Regions from separate parts of the Homo sapiens genome. Here region 1 is linked to region 2. The links are contacts of gene promoters, found by promoter capture Hi-C in blood cells and fetal thymus (Javierre and others, 2016). All regions are on one chromosome and are shown on one strand. The core of a region is centred on a gene start or on the middle of the fragment in contact, and the rest is flanking DNA. Distances in the headings are between cores, read along the strand shown. Region 1 has its middle 3.4 kb from the start of RNF146. Region 2 holds the start of STX7 (syntaxin 7).

Evidence for each region. Contacts are between HindIII fragments. The CHiCAGO score rates a contact against its expected background, and 5 or more counts as called.
Region 1: a contact is called between a fragment that was not itself captured here and the fragment with the promoter of STX7 in region 2, in 1 of 17 cell types (non-activated CD4 T cells). The highest score is 6.2, in non-activated CD4 T cells.

Annotation. Positions count from the first base shown.
Region 1 is chr6:127,260,907-127,266,105 of GRCh38, reverse strand. No RefSeq gene overlaps it. Among named protein-coding and RNA genes, the nearest start is that of RNF146, 3.4 kb to the left of the region's middle. The HindIII fragment of the contact is 2,811 bases long and covers 315-3,125 here.
Region 2 is chr6:132,509,681-132,514,770 of GRCh38, reverse strand. It overlaps STX7 (syntaxin 7), which reads left to right and starts at 1,655. Exons shown (of 10, transcript NM_003569.3): 1 at 1,655-1,764. RefSeq lists enhancers at 1,349-1,548, 1,906-2,407 and a silencer at 1,699-2,188. The HindIII fragment of the contact is 4,830 bases long and covers 120-4,949 here.

The sequences.
Region 1 (5,199 bases), core at 471-2,970, 5.2 Mb after region 2:
CTTTTATCTTTAGAAGAGTATGTATTTCAACATTCTATGACAGCGTCTTCTCATTTGCATTAGTGTTGCATTTTGGGATTTCATTAACTGTTTGATTCAGGATTGGAAGTTTTCAGTGTCCTTATAGGTATAGAAATGTATATGTTTTCTGTTATTCCTCTGAAATCAGTTTATTTCAGGGTTCTCATTCATATATATCAATATGTAACCCAATCTCTTGAAGGGTGCATCTAGTTCAGTGATGCTTGCGCGTGTATGCAATACTGTTCCATACATGTAGAAATATTGAAGTGTATATCCTTTAACTTTAAGCTTAGTTTTCTATCTTTATCTTCTTATTAGCCACTCAGTTTTGTCCCTCTATCCTACACAGCCCATGAACAGAGAATAGCTAAAATTTGATATGTACTCGAAGATTCCAGCTTGAAGAGGTAATGCTAATATTAACTAACAATGTGCCAGGTGTTGCTCTAAGTGCTTTATTCATATATACCCACTTAATTCTCATAATAAACTATGAGGTAGGCACTATTATTATTCCCATTTTACAGAGAGAGAGACACACACAGCTGAGATTTGAATCCAGGCACAGACTGTAAGATGTCAGCTAGTTCAACCCCTTCTCACTCATACCCAAGGTCTTTGTATTTCAGTAAATGGTTGCATCTTTCCTTGTTCAAACCCACCTTTAACTCCTCTCTTTTATGTCTTATATGCATTTGGCATATAACCTGTTGGCTCTTCCTTCAAAGTATATCCAACTACTTACCACCTCCGCTACAATCTGCATCATCTCTTGTTTGGATTATAGTGTTACGGTAGACCAGGAACTAGTCTTTTGACTCTATCCTTAATACAGAATCCTAAATAAATCTACTTAAAAAGAAGTGAGATCGTACCACTCCTTTGCTCAAAGTCTCCTGTGGCTTCCCAACACAAGTAAAAACCAAAGTCCTAACGATGGCTTTAAAATCCTCCCCTCATTACCTCTTTGACCCCACAGACTGTTTACCCAGCTTTGTATTCCCAGAAAGCTCTCCACAAGCTGCCAACCTCATAGTCTTTGCAGTTGTGGTTTCCTCTGCTTAGAACACTCTTCCCCATCATGCTCCCTCCATATGTGCTCAGATGTCCAACTCTTCAGTCAGTCCCTCTACTTGTCAGCATATTTTAAGTCATGATGTTTCCATTCCCAATATTTCATATTTCCTCCTTTACTTTTTAATACTTATCACAGTGTAATGGATAATTTATTTTACTTACTAATCTTCATCATATTTCTCATCACATTAGGACGCAAGACACAGGAGGCCAGGAATGTGTGTTCTGTTTTGTATCTCAACTGCCAGGAATAGTGCCTGACACACTTAAAGAGGTTCTCTGTAAATATGTGTTACATGAATGAGTAAATGAATGAATGAATGAATGAATACACACATGGCCGGGCAGTAGCTCACGCCTGTAATCCCAGGACTTTAGGAGGCCGAAGTGGGCGGATCACGAGGTCAGTAGATCAAGACCACCGTGGCTAACACAGTGAAACCCTGTCTCTACTAAAAACACAAAAAAATTAGCTGGGCATGGTGGCACGCGCCTGTAATCCCAGCTACTCGGGAGGCTGAGGCAGGAGAATCGCTTGAACCTGGGAGGCGGAAGTTGCCCGAGATCGTGTCACTGCACTCCAGCCTGCACTGCAACAGAGCAAGACTCCGTCTCAAAAAAACCCCAAAAACCACATTTGTGTATGTGAGTGTGTATATATATCCCCATTTATATATATATATGAATATATATATATCTCCATTTATATATATATATGAATATATCCCCATTTGTATATATATATGAATAAAAGTGAACTTCTCATTTTTCAGTAGTTGCATATGAAAAGCAGAATTGAATGCATGGAATACTATACACCCTACCTCCATCAGCCACTTGAAAGAAAGATAGAAGTTTATATCTTTGAATAACACAGGACAGCACCTCTCAACATTGTCAGAGTGCTGGTTTCCAGTAATTAAGAGTAACTGGTTTCCAGTAATTTTAAGTACCAAAACTTCAAATTATTTGCTTAAATAAATCAGAGCCTAACAGTTTCAATGTATTTCTGTAATAATGTTACTGTCACTGGGATTCCATTTTGCTTCATTGAATCAAAGGTAAAGAAGTTGCAGCTGACTGCTAGGAATTACCCAGTTGCCTGTTTGCTTATAGCTTATTGTCTATTTCCCACAACTTACAAAATACTTTGCTGAATACCACACATCTCCAGGCACCTACTCTTCTCCATTTATCCTTCCAACACTCAAAAATTGTCCAATGTTATTTGTTTTACTTAAGGATCAAAGCATTTTTTTTTGTTTACTTAATATCTGAAGACATCCATGAAAATGCATGAGAAAATGATGTGTTACAATAGAATGTACGTTGAAACCACTCGTGGCTAGTTTAGGGCGGCGGTGTTCCAAGTGTTATCTAGTGACCCATAGGGGTCCTTTGACTCTTGCAGAGTGTCTGAGGGAAAATTGTTCTTATAATAATACTAAGACTCTAGTTGCTTTGTTTACTTGCACTCTCAAATGTACAGTGGAGTTTTCCAGAAGCTACATGGTATGTGATGTAGCAATAGATTGATTATAGAAGCAGATATGAGAATTTGACTATATCTATTAAACCAGTCATTAAAACGATGTAAAAAAAAAAAAAAAGTAAAACTGCACTCTTCTTTCATTCAGTTAGCTTTGTTTTGGAAAATGTAGTGTTTTTTTTTTTAATAAAGTATGTTAATACAATGAGTCATTTTTAAATGAATTAGTATATATTGTAAACCATTCTCAATTTCAACTTTTAATTTGGTAAATATTGATTAGCTCATAAAAGTTTTTTGGGGTCTTCTATAAATTAGCACTGTCAAAGGGTCCTGAGACCAAATAAGAATGCTTGTCTGGGGCTATTTTGCTTACCAACTCTAAGTTAAATTTCTTCCCTTTTCACATGCCGGCAACCATCTGATAGCTGTGGACACAACTTTCTCATATGCCTGGAAACAGAACAAACCAGATTCAGGAATGTACCAGTCATTATAGCTAGCAGATGAATGGAAATCAAACCAAGAGGAAGCTTTGGAAAGCAAACTTTGTTTATTTTAATTAAAAACTTTGTTTCCAGAGCTGATACATAGGTTGGTTTCTGTCCTATCATTTGATGTTCTACTTACAGTAATCAAACAGTATATTATTTTCTAGTAGAACTCCTTTGCAAATAATAGTACACTAGCCAGTTTAGCTTGTGTTTTTCTTTTACCTACTGTGATTATCAATGCTTTCTCTTCTAATGGTTCTTAATGTTCCTGCGTTGCCCACAGACATTACAACTGAATTAGGATAATGTATGGCTAGAAAATAGCCCCAAGAGTCACTGAGTTAAACTTTATAGTTTGACTATAAAGTCAACGATGCATTTATTTCCTAACCTGGTTGTATGTATATAATATGTATTTATTAATTTTTAGATGTCTTATATTGACAGTAGTAGCTCTGATGTCTCCAAAGTCCATGCTTGTTTCATTAAATGACATAACCTTTCATTGACCATAGTATTAAAAGATAAGAATAAATGCTGTATTTTAACAGTGGAGGTTTTTTAAGCTAGCTTATTATTTTAACAAAATAGTCCCTTAAACAATGTACTCCATCACATAAAGGAAATTGCTTAAGGTCATCAAGGCAGCAACTATGTTTTGCAATGTCACATTTTCCTGTATCAGTTTAATATAATTATAACCTAAAAGTTTGAAGTATTTTCACAGAAGTTTGTCAAGCAAGATTCTCTTTGGAAAACAAAAACCACCTTAAGTATTTCAGACAGAGACTCTAATGTAGTGAAATGGTGGTGAAAGTGTTAGAAAACTGGAGGAACCAAAAAAGAAAGATGAAGATACCTTGAAATCAGTAACTGCAGAAAGTCACTGGCTCATCTAAGTTTGGAGGAGCAAAGGGTGTTCTGGGAGCTCCTGGAGGCTGCTAGAGCACTTTTTATGAACTGCTATAATAGGAAGTCAGGGTCCCATATGCACACTGAGCCTGCAGAAGTCCAGGAACTCACAGCCATAAGCAGTCACCTACCACTCCAATGTCAGAACCAGAAACGAATAGGAAAGAAATCACCTTCTCCTTTCCACTTACTTTTTCCATGTGATTGCCTTCAATTGACAAAACTAAACAAGAAACCATCTGTCAAAGGATTCTCAAAAACAACTTTTTCCAGCTCCATTAGATATAAAGCAGAACATAGAAATGCCATTGTGAGACTGGGCATCAAATATGTGGTTCAAAAAGTTTGAAAAATGATTTATTATATTGCTCAAGGTGATATATATTCTGAAATATGGAAAGAACTAGAATAATTGATTGCCTATTATTTTCTAAGCTCTTAACAAACCATTTTTTTCACCATAATGATCCAGGTCCACGAATATCTTTTCATCATTGTTCTATGAGACAACTGCAACTCATTGAGGTTACCAGTGTTCACAGGTAGCCCAGAGTAGAACCACGGTGAAGAGAGAGAGACCAGCTGAGGGGAATATGGACATGCATCAGTAAAGGTTCAGTAAAGACACGATGAGTCCTAGGATCAGGAGCGCCATAAACTAATTCGGGCATGCTACTTACTGTATCCAAATGTCAATTTTTTTATATGTAGCCATAAAACGGGTAAATTATCACCTCTATTCAGAGATTTGATAATGAAATTTAAGATAAAGTACTTGGCCAAGGTTGAAAAACCTTAGCTATTACAATTACATTATTTGACCTGTCTCAAATTCTGAGCTAGTTCCGCCAGAGCCTCTCATTCAGTCTACTAGAAAGCATAAGAATAAATACCTATAATTTCATAACTTCTATTGTCTTTTGGCAAAAACTGATAAATTATTTTCTTTTTCTGTTTTATAGAGTCTATATATATATATTTTTATACTTTAAGTTCTAGGGTGCATGTGCACAACGTGCAGGTTTGTTATATAGGTATACATGTGCCATGTTGGTTTGTTGCACCCATTAACTCGTCATTTACATTAGGTATTTCTCCTAATGCTATCCCTCCCCCAACCACCACCCTACAACAGGGCCCAGTGTGTGATGTTCCCTACCCTGTGTCCAAGTGTTCTCATTGTTCAATTCCCACCTATGAGTG
Region 2 (5,090 bases), core at 406-2,905:
GGACACCACAAGTGTGCAGATAACATTCCCCACTCAACAACTTCTGGTTTCCTTCAAAATCTCTCCAAGAAGGCCCAAATCTCGCAAATTACTATTTCTGAAAATCCAAATTACAAGCTTTCAGTCATAGGTAACTTCTGCACATGGAAATGATTTATTTTGGGAGATGTGACATTATCACTCATCAAATTAGGAGACTTTTAAAGCCCTACCACTTTCAAGACACCTGGCTGAATTTAACTTGGTAGCAGCCAGATTCACAGATGGAATACTGTGTCAGGAACTCTTAGTAATTCATTTATCTTAATACTTCTAAATTTTGCAAGTTTGTCTAGACTATAATTCTTTTTTTTCCCATTTGAATACCAAAGGATGAAATCTTATTCTAAGTTTTCAAAAGACCTGGAAGGAATCCACTCATAACATATTTTAAAACAAGGAATTGGAATGAGCCCAAGATGAGGGCTCAGACAGCTAAGTTTTGGGCCCAGCATAGTCAGTAACTATCAGGGTAACTTGAAGAGGCCACTTAATCTCAGGTTCTTCTGTAGTGCATTGTACCTTCCCTCCCCGGAGCCCAGAGTTCTATCAAAGGTAATATGAATGGGTATTTGGAAAGTGCACTAAACCTCACATGGATGTAAGATCCTTTCATGTGTTCCTTCAATGATTGAAATGTTTCTTCCTACGTTCACCAGCCACTTCCTAATTCTCAAGTACAATGCACTACTTTCAGTTCTTTATTTACTTGAACTTTGTGTAACAGGTGACATCATGGACAATTCCCTCCTTTTTTCCTTCATTCTCTAGTTTACCTTTTCCTGGTTTATTTCCTATCTTGTGGGTTACTCGTTTTCAGGGTTATTCTTTCTCTGTCCATCTCTCTTAAGCAGACAACATTCCACACTTAGTGTTGGTGAGTTCCAATCAGAATTCTATCCTGGGTTTTGTTTTTTTCCACCTAAGTGCGTCTGGACTTTTGATATCACCTATCCGGGTAATCATTTTAGAAAATAGTGTTGCCTTAATATAGGCAAAGGCTAAGCCAATCTATCTTCTAATTAATTTGGAGAGGGCTTTCTTTCATTTGTAGCAATTGATGCTTTTCATCTAACAATTACAATATATTTGCATATTTATCATTGGAACTGTCTCTGCTTGTTTTAAACCCTGTGAAAACTACGCCCTGCTTTTCAGGAATGCTTAGAATGACTTGTATGTACTAGGAAAACTTGTTTACAAGTGAGCACCCAGAGATGACTCTTCACTTATTCCTTCATTGTTCCTGCTAGGATTGTGTACTCGCCTTTGCATTTTTCGATAGAGCTGTCAACGCGATCTACTGCAGTTAAAGGTTAGCAAACAAGACAGGCAAGAGCTAATGGGGCGGGGTGAAGACCCGCGTGCAAGAAGGCTGGCTTCACCAGATAAAGAAGACAACTGTCCTCCATTCTGTCCTTTTTTGCACGCAGGCTAAGAGGCGTTCACCATCTCTACGTCAGGCTTCAAAGAACAGCTCCCTTGCAATTTTGCTGATACCCCCATTCCTTAGCTTGGAACCGGAGGGGCGGTGAGGGCCGCTGTCACTCAGCCCCGCGGGCCAATAGAAAAGGGGTGAACCCCGCCTTCTTCCTGAGTTGTGCTGCGGGCATGCGCACTGGGCGTCCCCACGCCACCGCCCATCAGCTGAGAATTGCAGCTGAGGGCTCCGGGGTAGGTGGGTGACGGCGGTCGGAGGTGTAGGAGGGAGCCGTGGAGGTCCAGGTAAGAGGACCCTGGGGAGGGGGCTCCCTGGCCGGGCGACAGGGAGGCGCGGTGCCCCTGCGGCTGCTGCGCCTTCTTGTTTGTGCGCGTGGTCAGGTGGCCGCCGCCCTGCGCTCTGCAGCAGGCACTCGGGAGGCTAGGAAGGGCGGGACTGCCCCAGCTCCCGGAGCGCCTGCGGCTCCCCACGCCCCCCGGCCGGGTGCAAGGGCGCGGCGCGTTCCGCATTCCGGGTGCGCGCGGCTGTGGTCAGGTGGGCCTACCCAGCCACGCACCCGCCGCGGTCCCCTGGGCAGAGCTCCGGAGGCGCACGGCTGGCGGAGCGCACCCCGGGGAGGGCGCCAGAGCCGGCTGGGGCCCAGCTCAGGAATCCAGACACGACCAAATGACCTCTTCCTCTTTTCAACTCACGGATTGAAAAACACACTAAACTTCCCGAATATAGAGGAACTGAAAAATGTATGGCTGTAGCAGGCGAACCGTGTATGTTTATTTATTCAGAGGATCGTAGTATTGTTTTTTTAATTTGGCTTGATGACTTTAACATACTTTGACATTCTTTGAGTATACACCTTTAATTAATTTACATAAAAACCTTTAAACGTACATAAAATATTTCTAGTATTTCCTCCACCTTGTTTTCTAGTTACTTTCTTTAAATTCAGACAAAGAAAAAAAGTTGCATTTCTGATCAAATGCTGTGTGTTTTTTCCCACAAATTTCTTACATTTGTTTGGCTCTTATCTGTATACGTTAATTTTTGTTTACCTCAGATCGTTGTATTCTGACTATAATTATATATAATATATAAAACTTGCCCAGAATCTGGAAGAAAAGAAAGTAATTATGAAATGCTGTGCTATTTAATAATGTTGGAAGTGGACATTTCTTCTGCAGGTTCTCTGAGCACACCTGGGCAGAGGCTGATAACGGTGTTAAACTGTGTTTTGTGTTGTGGACAGGCCTTATAGGCTACTTTGAGAAGTTGGCCTCAGACTCGTGACTAGTTAAGAATTATGCTCTTAACTTCACAGTTTCTGTAGAGGTTAATATGATACCATATTAACTGATTAACATCATAATTTTTCCTCAGATATGTTACTTATGTTGCTCTTGATAACAAAATCAATCCTTATTTTGGTTATGACCCCAAACTTTAAGTGCTGATGATTGAAAAGTAAATTATAGAAAATATTCACAGTAAGTCTGAGTGAAGTTTGCTGTGATTCCATTTAATTTGCAAGTTTCATGTGTGAAAGTATGAAAAAAACAATCCTCGGTATTGTGAACTAAAACCAAGTAGTACAAAAGGTCAGTGATGAAAGAGCTAAGGCCAAAGAATACAGTTAATGTAGTTTTTGCAGAGGATACTTATGTAGACAGAGCACCCTCACATTCCTTGAGCATTTACTATGCACCAGGCACTGTAGATTACACAGGATGACAAGGTCATCTCTCTCCTGTTTATATTCCAGAAGTAGCTCCTGTTTGTATTCCAGAGGTGTAGGGATAAATAATAAACAGTGATTAATTCGACTTTTGAGTATTGTGAAGCAGTAAGTTAGATTGACAAAGAGTGACCAGTGGTGAGTTCTCACTTTCATATCAGAGTGGTCACAAAGGTTTCTCTAGCATGTGATGAGGCCTTGCTGGGGAGAAGGAGCCAGTCACGTGGAGATCATGGGAAGAGCCTTCTAGAAATAGGAAATGGCACCCAGCAAAGGCCCAAGGCAGCAAGAAGCCTGGGACCTTCGGTATCTGAAAGAAGGCACTGGAATTTTATGTTTTGGAAATGGTAATATTTACCCTCACGCTGGGTGTGTGTTCTTAGGAGGTGGGTACATTCATTCATTCTACAAATGTTTGTTAAGCACTTGTGATGTAGCCAGGCAGTGAGAATAGTGCAGTCCACAAAACAGACAAAAAAATGCTCACCCCCCACCCCTCAGAACTTACTTGGGGTAGAGGGTATAGAGAAGTCCAGTTGTTTATGCTGATGCTAATGATTAAGAAAGTGAAATTGACTACTTCTTTGCCCAGGGTAGATTTATAGAGCATGAGATATATGCTAAATGGAAATCTTAAGGATTCTACAGTATATCGGATTTTAACTGGGAGTAGTGTTTGACACTTCAAGATTAAATTTTAACATTCCTTTTGTTCATTCCTTTGTGTTCTTTAGAAGCCGTCTTGAGAAGACTCTCATCTGAGTGTTGCACTTTGATTCTCCCTTCCTGTTTTTCTCTTTATAGTGTTTGTATATCTTCATAGAAAGATGATTATTGCAATGTGGAGATTAGCACTGTGCAATAGATCTTTCTGTGATAATGGAAGTGGTCTATGAATGAGCTGTCCAAGCTGCTGGCCACTAGCCACACAGAATTTTTGAACATTTGAAAGGTGTCTAGTGTGACTGAGGAACTGATTTTTTTCATTTAACTTAATTTTAATTAATTTTAATTTTTTAAAAACGAGAGCTACAATGTAATTTAAGTGATACACAATATAAAATGGTGTAAATTGTCACATGAAAAAATGAAATGTAGAGTAAAAGTGTAGTTTCTTACTGCAATCAGTTATCTTGTTAGCAGCTTAAAATAACCTGTAATAAGATTTTTTTGCTTTTATTATTTTAATCGACAGATAATGATTTACATATTTGTGGATACATGTGATACATCAGTAGATGTGTACAATGTGTAATGATCAAATCAGGGTAATTAGCATATCCATTACCTCAAACATTTAACATTTCTTTGTGTTAAGAGCATTCACAATTCATTCTTTCTTCTAAGTATTTGAAAATATGCAATAAATTGTAATTAATTGTAGTCACCTTTTAGGGGTATAGAACACTAGACTTCATTCCTCCTACCTAGCTGTATTTTGGTGTTAGTTAACCAACCTTTGGCTATCCCCTTCCCGCCATCCTTCTCTGCTTCTAGTAACCACTATAATTTTAACAGCCCATTTAGTTAGTGGCTAGTCTGTTAGTACAGGTCTAGGTAATGAATTATATAATTATTATTCTGAGCAATTAAATAGGAATTCTGAGTGGGCTTTCAAAAGTATTCAACAAGAGTACTTTAGTGCGTAGCAGCTCTGGGCTAGGTAATGGAGACTGATGTGGAAAGCAGACATCTGAATAACTCAGCATCCATTTAGCCTATATGCAGAGATCATAAGCTTTTAATCAATTTGTAGTTACCTATCCTGTCTGTCTATGCTTGTATATATATTTTTTAAAGACAACCATTTGGTTCCTTTCCTTTGTGTGTCTCATTATCAAAAGAGCCAACTGTTGTTGCCTTTTAGATACCACTTATTAG